Linked DNA regions of Homo sapiens: regions 1 and 3 are each linked to region 2. The links are contacts of gene promoters, found by promoter capture Hi-C in blood cells and fetal thymus (Javierre and others, 2016). All regions are on one chromosome and are shown on one strand. The core of a region is centred on a gene start or on the middle of the fragment in contact, and the rest is flanking DNA. Distances in the headings are between cores, read along the strand shown. Region 1 overlaps CFAP57 (cilia and flagella associated protein 57). Region 2 holds the start of CDC20 (cell division cycle 20). Region 3 overlaps EBNA1BP2 (EBNA1 binding protein 2).

The links. The method cuts DNA at HindIII sites, captures the fragments that hold promoters and counts their contacts. A CHiCAGO score of 5 or more calls a contact.
Region 1: a contact is called between a fragment that was not itself captured here and the fragment with the promoter of CDC20 in region 2, in 1 of 17 cell types (endothelial precursors). The highest score is 5.4, in endothelial precursors.
Region 3: a fragment that was not itself captured here is called in contact with the fragment with the promoter of CDC20 in region 2 in 1 of 17 cell types (total B cells); the score reaches 5.1 in total B cells.

The regions. Positions count from the first base shown.
Region 1 is chr1:43,212,826-43,217,519 of GRCh38, reverse strand. CFAP57 (cilia and flagella associated protein 57) reads right to left here. Exons shown (of 23, transcript NM_001378189.1): 12 at 2,104-2,265. It overlaps LOC105378685 (a long non-coding RNA gene), which reads left to right. Exons shown (of 5, transcript XR_007066041.1): 2 at 2,127-2,254. Among named protein-coding and RNA genes, the nearest start is that of CFAP57, 43 kb to the right of the region's middle. The HindIII fragment of the contact is 862 bases long and covers 2,298-3,159 here.
Region 2 is chr1:43,356,784-43,361,142 of GRCh38, reverse strand. CDC20 (cell division cycle 20) reads right to left here and starts at 2,162. Exons shown (of 11, transcript NM_001255.3): 1 at 2,137-2,162; 2 at 1,747-1,976; 3 at 1,505-1,653; 4 at 1,322-1,418; 5 at 1,046-1,174; 6 at 754-950; 7 at 550-644; 8 at 182-410; 9 at 1-23. The coding sequence starts at 1,927. It overlaps CDC20-DT (CDC20 divergent transcript), which reads left to right and starts at 2,470. Exons shown (of 4, transcript NR_183650.1): 1 at 2,470-2,593; 2 at 3,035-3,101; 3 at 3,243-3,340. RefSeq lists silencers at 1,974-2,123, 2,314-2,423 and enhancers at 1,866-2,374, 2,714-2,773, 2,885-3,393. The HindIII fragment of the contact is 10,275 bases long and covers 1-2,692 here.
Region 3 is chr1:43,164,934-43,169,824 of GRCh38, reverse strand. It overlaps EBNA1BP2 (EBNA1 binding protein 2), which reads left to right. Exons shown (of 9, transcript NM_006824.3): 5 at 797-886; 6 at 2,590-2,665; 7 at 2,906-2,999. Among named protein-coding and RNA genes, the nearest start is that of MIR6733, 4.3 kb to the left of the region's middle. The HindIII fragment of the contact is 3,482 bases long and covers 1,262-4,743 here.

The sequences.
Region 1 (4,694 bases), core at 1,479-3,978, 140 kb after region 2:
CCTGTCTTGCTTCTCTGCTTTATCCCCAGAACCTAGCATAAAACTAGCAGCATGGTCAGCACTGAATGAATACTTATCAATGATCCCAGGGGTCTGCCCTGGCTAGTGGGATATATTTATCCATGGGAATGACCCGGCCTTTGACATGCTGTGTTTGAGGTCCTTGTTCAGTGTCCTTCCTCCATCTATTCTTCACATTGCTGCAGATTATTCTCTCCGAGATGCGAATCATGTTAAGTCATTCCCCAGCTTAAATTTATGAATGGTCCTTATGAACAATGTCCAGCCTAATGCAGGGTGTAAAAGGCCCCCCTGACCTGTTTCTCTCCAGCTTCATCTTCAGCCCTTCTCTCTGGCACAACCTAACTAGGAGCAGCTTTGCAGACCACCACTCCCTCATCCCTCTGCACACACTCACTGCTCATTGCTCACTGGCCCTTGTCCATTTGTCCTGGAAGGATCTGAGCAAGGCTCATGTCCTCTGGCACCACCTGGCCTGAGCCAAGTTCCTTCCCCTGTGCTCCCACAGCATCGTTCTTTCATGACACTTCATTCCACTGCACGTTTAATTCCCTTCTTTGTGATACTCTGCCCTCTTCCCAGGCTATCAGCTAAAGGATGCTTTATGTCTTTTATCTCTGTAATCCCAGACCTTAGTATAGTGTCAGGTACACAGCAGACCCCTCTGTAAATCCTAGGCAGAGAAGGTAAATCATGGCCTGAGAGTTACTTAGACTATAATGGAATATAAAGAGAGTTGGGAATTCTGGGAACATGCTTTTTAAGGGACAGGCGGAGGAAGAGCCAGGACAGAAGCGGGGAGGAGGAGTCAGAAAGGTTTTCAGGGAACAGAGTGTGGTCACAAGGATGGTAAGACAGAAGGGAGTTTCAAGAAGGAGCGGTATATGCACAAGTCATTTCCAGCCTGGCAGCGGTACTGTCAGGCCCATCTGGGGGCTGTGGTCAGAAGCCAGCTTGGGCACCTTCAGGCCTTTGGTTCAGCCTGCTGTCTCCTATTTGGCCTCTTCCCCTACCCTCTGGGAAGAACAGAAAAGATAACAGAGAAAAGGAAATGTCCCTTCTGCAGCAGGTCAGGCCCCCACTCTCACGGGCCCCTCCCTCATCCTCTTCTCCCTCTTTGCTTTTCCTGCAGAAAATTCTAGGGAGCTCTGGAAGGGATCTCCAGCGAATGCCAGGGGCTTGTCACCGTGCTTTGTGGCAGTGTTGTATTGCTGCTCTGATGGCTTTACTTGTTTCTATCCCTCACTTGACTGTAAGCTTCCTGGTCATGTCACAGGGCCCACAACTGTCTTTTCACATGTGCATCCCCAGTGCCTAGCAAATGGTAGGTGTTCAATAAACACACTTAAGATTCTGGACAAACAGCAATGACTGTGTAGCTTTGCGATCCTCCATGAGCCTTGTGTGTTTATCATCCATTCAGCTTCTCCCTTAGGAAGCGTAACACAGAGCTATGCACTCATATCTCTGCAAAACACACCTTTATGGAATGTTTACTGCATCAACAGGAAGGAAGGGATGTCCCTTTGGTATAGTGATTAAGGGAGGGGGCTCTGGATTAAATCTGGATTAGAACTCTAGTCCTATTAATTATTAGCACACTGACTTTGAACACATCCCTCAAGCTCTCCTAACTTGTTTTTTGAAACATGGGGAGAATGACAGTATCTTCTTCATAGAGATGTTGTGAGATTTAAATGAGAACATACTTTACTTTTGTAAATATTTATTGATTGTCTTCCATGTGCCCAGCATGTGCTAGGAACTGTTGGTCATAAGAGAACTGTATGTTTCATTATTCTTGGTTTCAAAGAGTAGGAAGAGAAAACCAGATCACAGAATAAAAGCAAAGCACAGTGTAAGTCAAGATGATCACATGGCAGAAAGACAGGCAGAGTCGGGTGGACAGTGGCAATGAGGAGGAGAGCTTGGTTGTGGGGACAGCAGATGTGCAGGGAGCCGTGGGGGTCTGCACTGGGCATAGGGTGTAGCCAGGCTGTAGAGGGCCCCAGTGCTGGACCTGCATCTGAATGCAGTCTGGTAAGTAATTCCATATCCCTCTTCATTAGATCCAGTTCTTACCTTTTCTTCCATGTCTGTTTTAGTCACAAGCACCTCTTCGGCAAAGCCCACCTCCCTCTCTCGCTTGATTCCCCGGCCATCCTTATCAAAGACCTTCCAGGTGAACAGGCAGCCATCCTCAGCAGCAGTCAGCAGGAACTGATCATCAAAGGTAAGCAACATCTGAAGAGAAAAAGGGTCATGGCCAGGAAGCTTTCAAGGCCACAGATGACCAGGGCTGAGCCAGCTGTTGCGCAAGGCTTCCCCCCATGCAATCCTGGGCACAGCCTCACAGGGAGGTAAACTTGATCCCAGGTAAGAATGAGAGAGGAGCCCTCACAGGCATCTGTTAATGAATAGAAGAAGTAAGGTTACGTCTACATTCTCTGTGGATTTGGAATCTGAAGAGTCAGCTATTATCTAGAACGAACAAGAAACTCTCAAAACTCAACAGTAAAAAAGCCAAACAATCCAATCAGAAAGTAGACAAAAGATAAGGAGACATTTCACCAGGGAAAATACACAGATGGCAAGTAAGCACATGAAGAGATACTCCGCATTATTAGCCATTTAGGAAAATGCAAAATTAGGACCATGATGAGATATCACTACACACCCATTAGAACAGCTAAAATAAAAAACAGTGACAACACCAAGTGCTGGCAATGATGCAGAGAAACTGGGTCTCATACATTCTTGGTAAGAATGTAAAATGGTACAGCCACTCTGGAAAATAGCTTGGCAGTTTAAAAAAAAACAAACCTGAATATACACTTACCATATGATTCAGCAATTATACTCCTGGGCATTTATCCCAGAGAAATGAAAACTTATTTCCACACAAAAGCCTGTATATGATTGGTCACAGCAGCTTTATTTATAATAGCTGAAAACTGGAAAAAATTAAAAATATCCTACAATAGGTGAATGGCTATACAAACTGTGATTTGTTTTTCATGGAATACTACTCAGAAATAAAAGGGAATAAACTATGATTGATACACAACACAACTTGGATGGATTTGAAGATTTAGCTGAGTGGAAAAAGCCACAATCAGGACATTAAGCTAAAAAGCTTCTGCACAGCAAAGGAAACAATCAACAGACTGAAGAGACGACCTGTCGAATGGGAGAAAATATTTGCAAACTATTGCTCTGACAAAAGACCAATATCCAGAATACCAAAGAACTCAAACAATTCAACATTAAACAAACAAAAAAATCTAAAAATCTCATTAAAAAGTGGGCTAAGGGGCGGGCGTGGTGGCTTACACCTGTAATCCCAGCACATTGGGAGGCTGAGGAGGGTGGATCACCTGAGGTCAGGAGTTTGAGACCGGCCTGGACAACATGGTGAAACCTCATCCGTACTAAAAATACAAAAATTAGCTGGGCGTGGTGGCAGGCACGGTAATCCCAGCTACTCGGGAGGCTGAGGCAGGAGAATCTCTTGAACCCAGGAGGGGGAGGTTGCAGTGAGCCGAGATTGAACCATTGCACTCCATCCTGGGTGACAAGAGCAAAACTCTATCTCAAAAAAAAAAAAAAAGTGGGCTAAGGACATGAATAGACATTTCTCAAAAGAAGACATACAAATGGCCAACAGGTATATGAAAAAATGCTCAACATCACTAATCATCAGGGAAATGCAAATCAAAACCACCATGAGATACCATCTTACCCCAATTAGAGTAGGTATTATCAAAAAGACAACAAATAACAGATTCTGGCAAGAATGTGGAGAAGAGAGAACTCTTATACACTGTTGGTGGGAAGGTAAATTAGTACAACCACTATGGAAAACAGTATGTAGACTTCTCAAAAAAACTAAAAATAGAACTACCATACAATCCTGCAATCTCATTACTGGATACTTTTCTAAAGGAAAGGAAATCAGCAGATTGAAAGGATACCTGCGCTCCACCGCCCCCCCCATATTTATTGTACCACCAATAGTAAAGATATGGAATCAACCTAAGTGTCCATCAGTGGATGAATGAATAAAGAAAATGTGGTATATATACCCACTGGAATACTATTTGGCCGTAAAAAATGAATGAAATCATGTTTTTGCAGCAACATGGATGGAACTGGAGGTCGTGAAGTTAAGTGAAATATGTCAGGTACAGAAAAACAAATATTGTGTGTTCTCATTCATATGTGAGAGCTAAAAAATGTTGACCCTAGTCGGGCATGATGGCATGTGCCTGTAATCCCAGCTACTTGGGAGGCTGAGGTGGAAGAATCGCTTGAACCCAGGAGGCGGTGGTTGCAGTGAGCGGAGATCATGCCATTGCACTCAAGCCTGGGCGACAGAGTGAGACTCTATCTCAAAAAAAAGAAAAAAAAGTTGACCTCATGGAAGTAGAGAGTGGCATGATAGATACTAGGGAAGAGTGTATGGGTTGGTGGGGTGCTAAAGAGAGATTGGCTAACAGATACAAACATTAGATAGAAGAAATCAGTTTTCTTTTCTTTCTTTCTTTCTTTTTTTTTTTTTTTGAGATAGAGTCTGCTATGTTGCCCAGGCTAAGAGTGCAGTGGCACGATCTCCCAGCTCACTGAAATCTCTGCTTCTCAGGTTCAAGCAATTCTCCTGCCTCAGCCTCTCG
Region 2 (4,359 bases), core at 913-3,412:
TGCCAGGGACACCATGCTACGGCCTAGATGGAATAAAGGTGGGGTCAGCAGGTACTAGAGCCAGACAAGGAGCTCTAGGGGTCACAGATTAACCCAGTCCAATCCTACCATCCCTTCTCCCCTTAACAGTCCCCAGATTATAGGTGAGGGTCTGCAGAGGCTTCAGCCCAACCCTACTCACCTTGACAGCCCCTTGATGCTGGGTGAATGTCTGCAGAGGAACCCAGCCACCCTCTCCAGGAGCACTAGGCCACACATTGACCAAGTTATCATTACCACCACTGGCCAAATGTCGTCCATCTGGGGCCCAGCGCAGCCCACACACTTCCTGGCTGTGGCCACTCAGTGTGGCCACATGGTGTTCTGCTACCCGAACATCATGGTGGTGGATGTGGCCAGAACGTGAACCACTGGAGGAGGAAAGAAGGGAATCAGGTTCTGTGGCAGCACCAAATGCAAGCAAGCCAGAGCTGGTTCAGTTCAGGGGTGTACAGTCAAGGGGAGGGTGGGCAAATATCAGACTACCATAGACCAACAAAAACCACTGACCTGGACAGGATATAGCTGTTCCAGCTTAGGGAGCCCACTCGGGCAGAGTGACTGGTCATATTTCGAAGCCGTTTCTGCTGCTGCACATCCCATAGCTAGAGAGAGAAGCCCACTAGGATCAGAGATTGGGACTTGGCATTAATATCCTCCAGCTGTGCAAGCCCATTGGGACTGGTGAGAATGACAGCACTGGACACGTCTCACCTGCACCTCAGCACTGCTGGTGCCCACAGCCAAGTAGTTGCCCTCTTTGATCCAGGCCACAGAGGATATATATTCCCCAGGCTGCTCCATTTGCAAAAGCTGCAGGATGTCACCAGAGCTTGCACTCCACAGGTACACACTGTTGTCCAGTGCCACGGCCAGTACATTCCCAGAACTCCAATCCACAAGGTTCAGGTCTGTCAGAGGTGGAGAGAAGAGCATGAGCTTCCTTGTTTGTGTGGTCCCAGGCCCTCTTTCTCCATGCATGAGGCGAGGATAAGGATGCACTTACAATAGTCATTTCGGATTTCAGGCGCATCCAGGATACGGTCTGGCAGGGAAGGAATGTAACGGCAGGTCTTCCGGCTGGAGCCAGGAGTGGCCTTTTGGCTGTAGAGTACTTTCAGTCTGTTCTGATAACCTGTGGCAACGGAGTGAGTCTAGACGCTGGGAAAATCAACACCTCCCTTGCCCTCAATCTTAGATAGGAAGAGGAGACAGATATCTGTGCTCAGCCCTGGAGATGAACTGACACCTCCCTCCAGGAACCAGGAACTTCGGGTCTTACCCTCTGGCGCATTTTGTGGTTTTCCACTGAGCCGAAGGATCTTGGCTTCCTCTACATCAAAACCGTTCAGGTTCAAAGCCCAGGCTTTCTGATGTTCCTGGCATAAAGGGTAGTGAAGGAGCAAGATGGTATTATCCAAAGAACAGTCAGGTCCCGTGCCTTAAGCCCCTCTGGGACACATACCTTCTTGGTGGGCGTCTGGCTGTTTTCAGGCTGGTTCTCCTTGCTCAGGAGGAAGCTGGCCACCTCCATCTGGGCAGCACTGCGATGGGGGATATAGCGGTCACCGCCAGGTTTGCTAGGAGTGGTCTGAACCTTGGAACTGGATTTGCCTGGGGCGGAGAAAGAGAAGACAGTCTGACCAGGCTCCCCAGGGAGAAAGTATGAAGGCTGCTCTCACTCAGTTCCTTTGGCACCTCACTGACCAGGAGTTCGGCCCGGAGTCCTGCCGGCGCTGTGGGATCGGTTGGCGGCCCGCATGGGTGAGGGGGCCGGGCCTGCGGCTTCCTTGGCTTTGCGCTGCCAGCGCGCAGGGGGTGCATTGGGGATGGGTGCATCCAGCTGAAGCAGCGAGTGCAGGTCACTCTCGAACGCGAACTGTGCCATGGGAGCGCCCGCAGGGGGAGGGGTCCTTGCAGTTGGTGCCTACGGAGCCCTGGAGGAAAGGAGGCGACGGTGCTCAGGGGACAGAAAGGGACCCCTTCGCTCCTGGCCGGCCACAAAATCAGGGCCACCCTCGGCTGCAGCCCCTTCCGGCCTAGCACCCCCTCCCCCTGGCCACGGCCCCACCTCGGCTCAGCCCCACCACCTCTCACCGTGCCCTCCGGAGCAGTTCCGACCGGCTTTAACACGCCTGGCTTACGCCTCTTAAACTCTCCGCTCCGAGCGCCTATTGGCTCCTTCAAAATCCAACCGTCGCAACCGTTGCCCTAGCCCATTGGCCTCTCCGGCGAAGGGGGCGGGCCTTCCGGGGAAAGTCTCAGCTATCACGAGAGTCTAGCGGCGGAGCGCGATTTGAAGGGTACGAGAGGGGCTGGGAGCCGGCGCCAGAGGACTAGTACTGGAAAGCCGGCCGGGACAGGGCGGGGCAGGGCGGGGCCGGGTGGGGCCTGCGCTGCCTCAGCGTCCTGGAGTCGTCTCGGTTCGCCCTTTTGCGTGCCTTCCACCGCCGCGAGCTCGGAATGTCTGGCCCCGGGTGCTTCAGGGTCCGAGAACCTGCAGAAGTTCACACTTAAATCCTACACGAGAGTCGTATTTATGATGCAGAACTCGGTGCAGAACCCGATGGAGTGCCCAAGGCGCTTGAGCCGTTCCTAGAAGGGGAAGGAGAGCCGCGGGCGGCAGCGGGGCAGGGGACGGAATTGGGAAGCTTGGGAGCAGGAAGAAGGCCAGAGCTACTTAGGGTACATTCCACTTTTGCTTGGCGCCGGGTAGGAACCCTGCTAGAAAGGAAGTAACGTGTGTTTGTCTCGTTTGCTGTTGTTTTACAAACAGGGAAAATGAGGTTGAAAAGGGTGAATGAATTCCTTAAGGTCAAGAAAAAGGATCGGTATTCAAACCTGCCTATCTGGAAGATAAGCTTAGACTGCCCTACAGGAGGCACTGTGGCTTATCCCCTTGGGGCTTTAAAGATGTGAGGACCTTAGAGATCCATTAGTCTAACCTGTGCGTGGTGCAGCCTCCCCACCCCGACAACAAATCCATATTTTACAGATGGAGAAACGGAGGCCCAGGGAAGGGATGTGCCCGAGGTCATACAAAGAAGTTTGTGGGAATCCAGGTCTGACTCGCACTCAATCTAGTGCTCTAATAATGACTTGAGTGAATTGTATGAATGTGCTCAGAGGTGGAGCAGCAATCATAAAAGTAATAATGGTACCATTTATGGACCATCTAACTACTGTGTTAAAACAATTTACAGGCCATGCGCGGTGGCTCACGCTTGTAATCCCAGCACTTTGGGAGGCCGAGGCGGGCAGATCACGAAGTCAGAAGATCGAGACCATCCTGGCTAACACGGTGAAACCCCGTCTTTACTAAAAATACAAAAAATTAGCCGGGCTTGGTGGCGGGCGCCTGTAGTTCCAGCTACTCGAGAGGCTGAGGCAGGAGAATGGCGTGAACCCGGGAGGCGGAGCTTGCAGTGAGCCGAGATCGAGCCACTGCACTCCAGCCTGGGCAACAGAGCGATACTCTGTCTGAAAAAAAAAAAAAAAGTTTACATACATTATCGAGTTCAATCCTTAATCCCATAAGGCAGATAGATACCCCATCTTCCCTTTACAGAAAAAAGAAACTGGGTCAGAAAGATTAGAAACTTGCCCAAAGGCATGCAGCCAATAATAAGTAGGGGAGCCCAGGATTCAAACTATCTGACTAATCCCTGCAATCTAAACAATACGCTATACTGTCCCAGAAAGAGGCTGGAAAAATCATTTTCAGTCATTAGCTTAAAGTCCACTCCGATGCTTACAGATAATGTTATTATCTTTGACTTGAAGCCTTTGCATTCTCTATTTCCAATTACCTTGGAAAATAAGGAATTGGATATGCTTAGGTTAGAGGTGGGGAATTCCCAGAAAACATAGAAAAGGTTGTCTCATGTCAAGTTGGTCAGGGTCTTAAATGTTAAGCTAAAGACTTTGGACTTCATCTGCTAGGCATTGTGGTACCTGTGGGGTTTCTGTGTAGGGAAGGACCAAATAAAACATCTGAGGGGGGGGATATGGCAATAATTTGCAACTTCTGGTGGTAGCTATAGAGAAGGATAAAGGGTATAGCCTCAGGGAATTTGTACATTTAAAAATAAAGGATTTGGGCAGGTTGTCATGGTTCACTCCTGTAATCCCAGCACTTTGGGAGGCCAAGGCGGGCAGATCACTTGAAGTCAGTAGTTCAAGACTAGTCGGGCCAATGTGGCGAAACCCTGTCTCTACTAGAAGTACAAAATTAGCCAGGTGTGGTGGTGCACACCTGTAATCCCAGCTACCTGGGAGGCTGAGGCAGGGGAATCGCTTGAACCTGGGAGGCGCAGGTTG
Region 3 (4,891 bases), core at 1,753-4,252, 190 kb after region 2:
CAGGTGGTAATGCTTGCTTGCCTGTCACTCACTTTCTGCTGTGCGGCCTGGTTCCTAACAGGCCACAGATTCATAGTGGGTTCGTAGCGGTCTGTGGCCTGGGAGTTGAGGTCCTCTGACTTTAAAGGATACTGGAGGCGAGTGTAGGTTATATGCAAATGCTGCACCATTTTTATATAAAGGACTTGAGCATCTGTGGATTTTGATATCTGTAGTGGGTCCTAGAACTAATCCTCTATGGATACTGAGGGATAAGTATATTTAAATAGTACCCTGGGGTCTCAAGCTGGATTTTAGGGAGCTTTTGTCGTGGTAGTAGTTCACCTTCTTACTGTGAACTCTGTACAAATTCTCACTGACAACTTCTCATCCTTTAACTAAAATGTGTATGTTTGACTGAAAAGGCTAGGCACCTGGTATCTGCCTGGGTTTTTATTGTGTATGTGGTATACTAGAAAAGGACACTGAGGCCGCATACTGGTTTCCAGCCTCAGTCTACTGACAGTAGAAATGGGGAGAAGTTTGTCTTCTTTCCTGGGCTACAAATAGGCAGTTTGTATAATGAAACAGACAGCACACTGGGAGCGGGAAGGTGACTTTCAATCTCTGGCTTCACTCTGGCACTTTTGGTAAAGTGCTCAGCCTGTGGGCCCCATTGTCCTCAGGGGTTGGAACTGATGATTTATAAGTTCCGCAGTTTAAAGAACAGGGAATATCTGTTCCCTGCTCTAGCGAATCCTAAGTAGTGGTCATTCCAGATTCAAATGACATGAACTGACAGCATTTTGTGTTGTAGATTCGACAGAAGCTGCAGACTAAACAGGCTGCCATGGAGAGGTCTGAAAAAGCTAAGCAACTGCGAGCACTTAGGAAATACGGGAAGAAGGTGAGAAGAAAAGTGTGCAGGGAACAGGAAGAGGCGGAGTGTGTGTTAGATGAGATTGCCGTGGTCTGACTTGGTCCCCTGAACTGAACGGAACTGTGTGTTGATCATGTATTTACCGTCTCTCAGTGTATGTGCTGGTATTCATGAGCACAATCTTGCCTGGACATGAGTGGTTCCCCAGGAGTAGTATGGTGACTGCAGGTGAGCCAATCACCTCTCTGGGCGTTAGTTTTCACATCTGTACACTGGGTCCAGATGAGTGGTTTCCAAACCTGACCTTATAGCAAAATCACCAGGGGAAATTTTTCAAAACAGAATTCTAGACTTCAGAATCCCCAGGAATCTGTGCCTGTTTTCCCCTCTTCCCCAAAAGCTTTCCAGGTGATTCTGAAATGCATCCTGGTTTGGGATTCACTGATCTATGTGATAATCACGTACCTGAAGAAATTATCATAATGATTGTCATCCAATCTGAAAGATTGCCTGCGTGTTTGAACTATGAATGTCTGAGTTCTAATGTAACACCAGATCAGGCATACCCTAAAACTTTTCTTGGTTTTCCTTTTTTATTTCATGGTCATCTAAGAAAGAAGATGACAGATTTTAAAGTTAGGATTGTGGGAAGAAATGAATGTGAGGAAGATTGGTGTGGGTGTTAAGACTTCGTCAACATTTGGACATAAGCACTTGTGATCTGGGCTGCAGAACTCTTGTCCACGTTTGGAGTCATTTCACTGATACATTCTCAGCAAAGTAGGAATAGGCTGGGATCCTGTCCTCTACAAAAGGCCTGCTGCGGATTTATTATTTCTTTGATCTGGAGGTGGATGGCTGAGATTCTCTCAAAGACACCAGTAATTAATTTAACATAGCCAAAGTTACCAAAAGCAAAGACAAACTCACTTGGGCCTATTAGTTCACTGTTCCTAATTTAAGGAAACACTGGGGAAGAGTTTGTTAACTGGGGGTGAATTTGCTCCCCAAGAGTTTTCTGTGACTGCCTGGAGATATTTTTAGTTGTCAAATTTGGGAGGGAGGGTACTACTGGCATCTAGTAGGTAGAGGGCAGGGGTGCCGCTAAATATCCTACAGTGTAGGACAGGCCCCTACCCCCCAGCAAAGAATTATTCTCTCCACACTGTAGCAGTATCAAGATTGAGAAACCCTCTGTTAGAGTATTATAAAGTGTCTCCTTTTATCCTTCAAACTTTTTTCTTTTCTTTACCTGGGGACATTGTTTTTTTCTCTTCCTTTTGGTACTTTCATGCCTAGTAACAGTGAGTTAGATAATTAATCTGTCCAAATGTGATGCGAAAAATCGATGTAGTCTTAAACATGATTTACTTCAGTTTTGTAGGCAGGATTGTATAATAGGGTGAGTGCTGGCTTTGGAGTCAAACAGCCTGGGTCATCTTGGCTGTGCATTTTTTCACTGTGCGACTTGGGCAAGTTAACTTCCCTGTGCTTCAGTTTAGGGGATAACACAAATTTCAACTTCACTGGATTGTTATGAGACAGATATATCTTCATCTATGAAGAATATACCTAGATCTGAGAATATACTTAGAGTCCCTAACACAGTTTTTGGCACGTAGTAAATGTCAGAGGGTAGTGGTATTAATCATGGTGTTGCTATTAAGACAATGTAGACACTGGAGTAATGGTATGGAATGGCTGTAACGGTCCTTGTGTTCATATCACAGGTGCAAACGGAGGTTCTTCAGAAGAGGCAGCAGGAGAAAGCCCATATGATGAATGCTATTAAGAAATATCAGAAAGGTTGGTACATCTCTAATAGGGGAACGAGGGTAGCAGGTACTTTAGAGTTGATTTGAACACTTAGTGCTTTGGAGCCTTCTTGGTTGATGTGGACCTGTCGGATCAAAGTTTTGGGAATGGTGTTGGAGAGCAGGATGTGACTCTTAAAATCAGTGTAGCAAATAACAGCCTCATATGGTGGTTTAAACTTTTATTCTTAAAATACAATGGTGCTGATCAAAACTACTTCTTCACTTACAGGCTTCTCTGATAAACTGGATTTCCTTGAGGGAGATCAGAAACCTCTGGCACAGCGCAAGAAGGCAGGAGCCAAAGGCCAGCAGATGAGGAAGGGGTGAGAAGGGTTTTGGCATGGTTTCTTTGGTTCTGTGAGGTGCGATGGGGCCACAGGTCACGAGTATGGCAGACATAGCACCTCCACCGGCGCAGCCATAGAGTCCAGAGAGTGCAGCTGCTGCCTGGGGCCAGGACCCCTATGACTGTGTGATGGGCCCTTTTAGCCATGTCAGTCTTTGAAGAGTAAAAGAAGGCACTTTTTAAACTTCTTTTTTTTTTGGACAGTCTCATTCTGTCACTCAGGCTACAGTGCACTGGTACAGTCTTGGCTCACTGCAACCTCTGCCACCTGGGCTCAAGTAATTCTGTGCCTCAGCCTCCTGAGTAGCTGGAACTACAGGTGCCTGCCATCACACCCAGCTAATTTTTGTATTTGTAGTAGAGACAGGGTTTCACCATGTTGGCCAGGCTGGTTGTGAACTCCTGGCCTCAAGTGATTCACTCACCTCAGCCTCCCAAAGTGCTGGGATTATAGGTGTGAACCACTGCACCCATCCTAAGAAGGTACTTTTAAGTATGTGGCACCCTTTAAGTGAATGCTGAGTAAAGTTGATTCCCCATCACACAGTGCGATGGTTGAGAGTTCAGACCTAGGGTTCAGATCCCGACTCTACCACTCAGTAGGAGGGCAGTTTTGAACGAGTTACCATGCCTTTCTAAATGCTAATTGCCTCATCTGCTAAGTTGAGGAAATAGTGTCTGCCTCATAGTATGAAGACTGAAAGAGAGAATGTGGGCTCTCATTGTTTTTTCTAGTCTGCTTTTTTGCATACCTGGATACCAGGCCTAGGGGAAATGATAATTTCCATGTAAGATAGTAAGTGCTATGATAGAGGCATTTGGGGATTAGTACTGAGTCAGCTTTTATAAATACCTGACAGGGTCTGGGGTGGATTTCTGGAGGAGCGTTCGACTTGAGCATTGCTTGAAGCATGAGTAGGAATTAACCACGAGAATAGAAGAGAAGCTGGGTTTGGGAAGAAGTAAGAGCTTGAACGAGCAAAGCCATCGAGATGTGAAACCTCAGGGTTTTGTGAGGAACAGTAAGCCCTTGGTGTCACTGGGAATACAGTGCAAAGCAAGGAGGGGTGCAATGTGTTTGGGGGGACCTGGGCTGTGGGTTTGCCTTGTTGAGGAGCTTGGGCTTTGTCAGAAGGCAGTGGAGAGACTAGGTTGTAGGTTGTACTAACAGTAATGAGCAGGTTATATTCATGTTTTTAAAAAGATCACAGTGGATTTTGTATAAGTGACAGACTTGAGGGAAGCTGGGAAATTGACAAGGGTACTATTGCAAAAGTCGAGATAAGGATTGAAGAAACATTTAAGAGGTGAAATGAGCAGGACTCAGTAATTGAATTGGGTATAAAGAGTGAGAGAAGAACCAAGGCTGACTCCCACATGTTTAGCCTGTGTGTCTGGGTTGGTGGGAGCAGCGCCAGCCTCAAGTGAGGGCATATGTACAGGAAGCAGAGCCAGTCCAGGAGATGATGTGAATTTGGAGATGCTGAATTCAAGATTCCTATTGGATGACCAGTTTTACATTTGAATGTTATTCCATTTGAATGTTATTTGAATGCCTATAATTACATTTGAATGTTTACATTTGAACGTATTCATTACATTACATTTGAATGTTACAAATGTAACATATTACATTTGGATGTTAACTGCATGTATTTACCCTTGAGAGGAATAGACACAACTGAGGGTGATTTAATAAGATTTGGTTAAAATAGAAAGCTTTCTAAAGACAGCAGGAAGCCATGTAATATATGTAGAGCCTTCCCTGCTTCTTGCTTTATTTTCCTGCCCTGGTGGTCAAAACTGTAAATAGGTGAGCTAGATGAGTTTGTCTAGAGAGGCTGTAGCATAGGATTGTGGGGCCAAGGA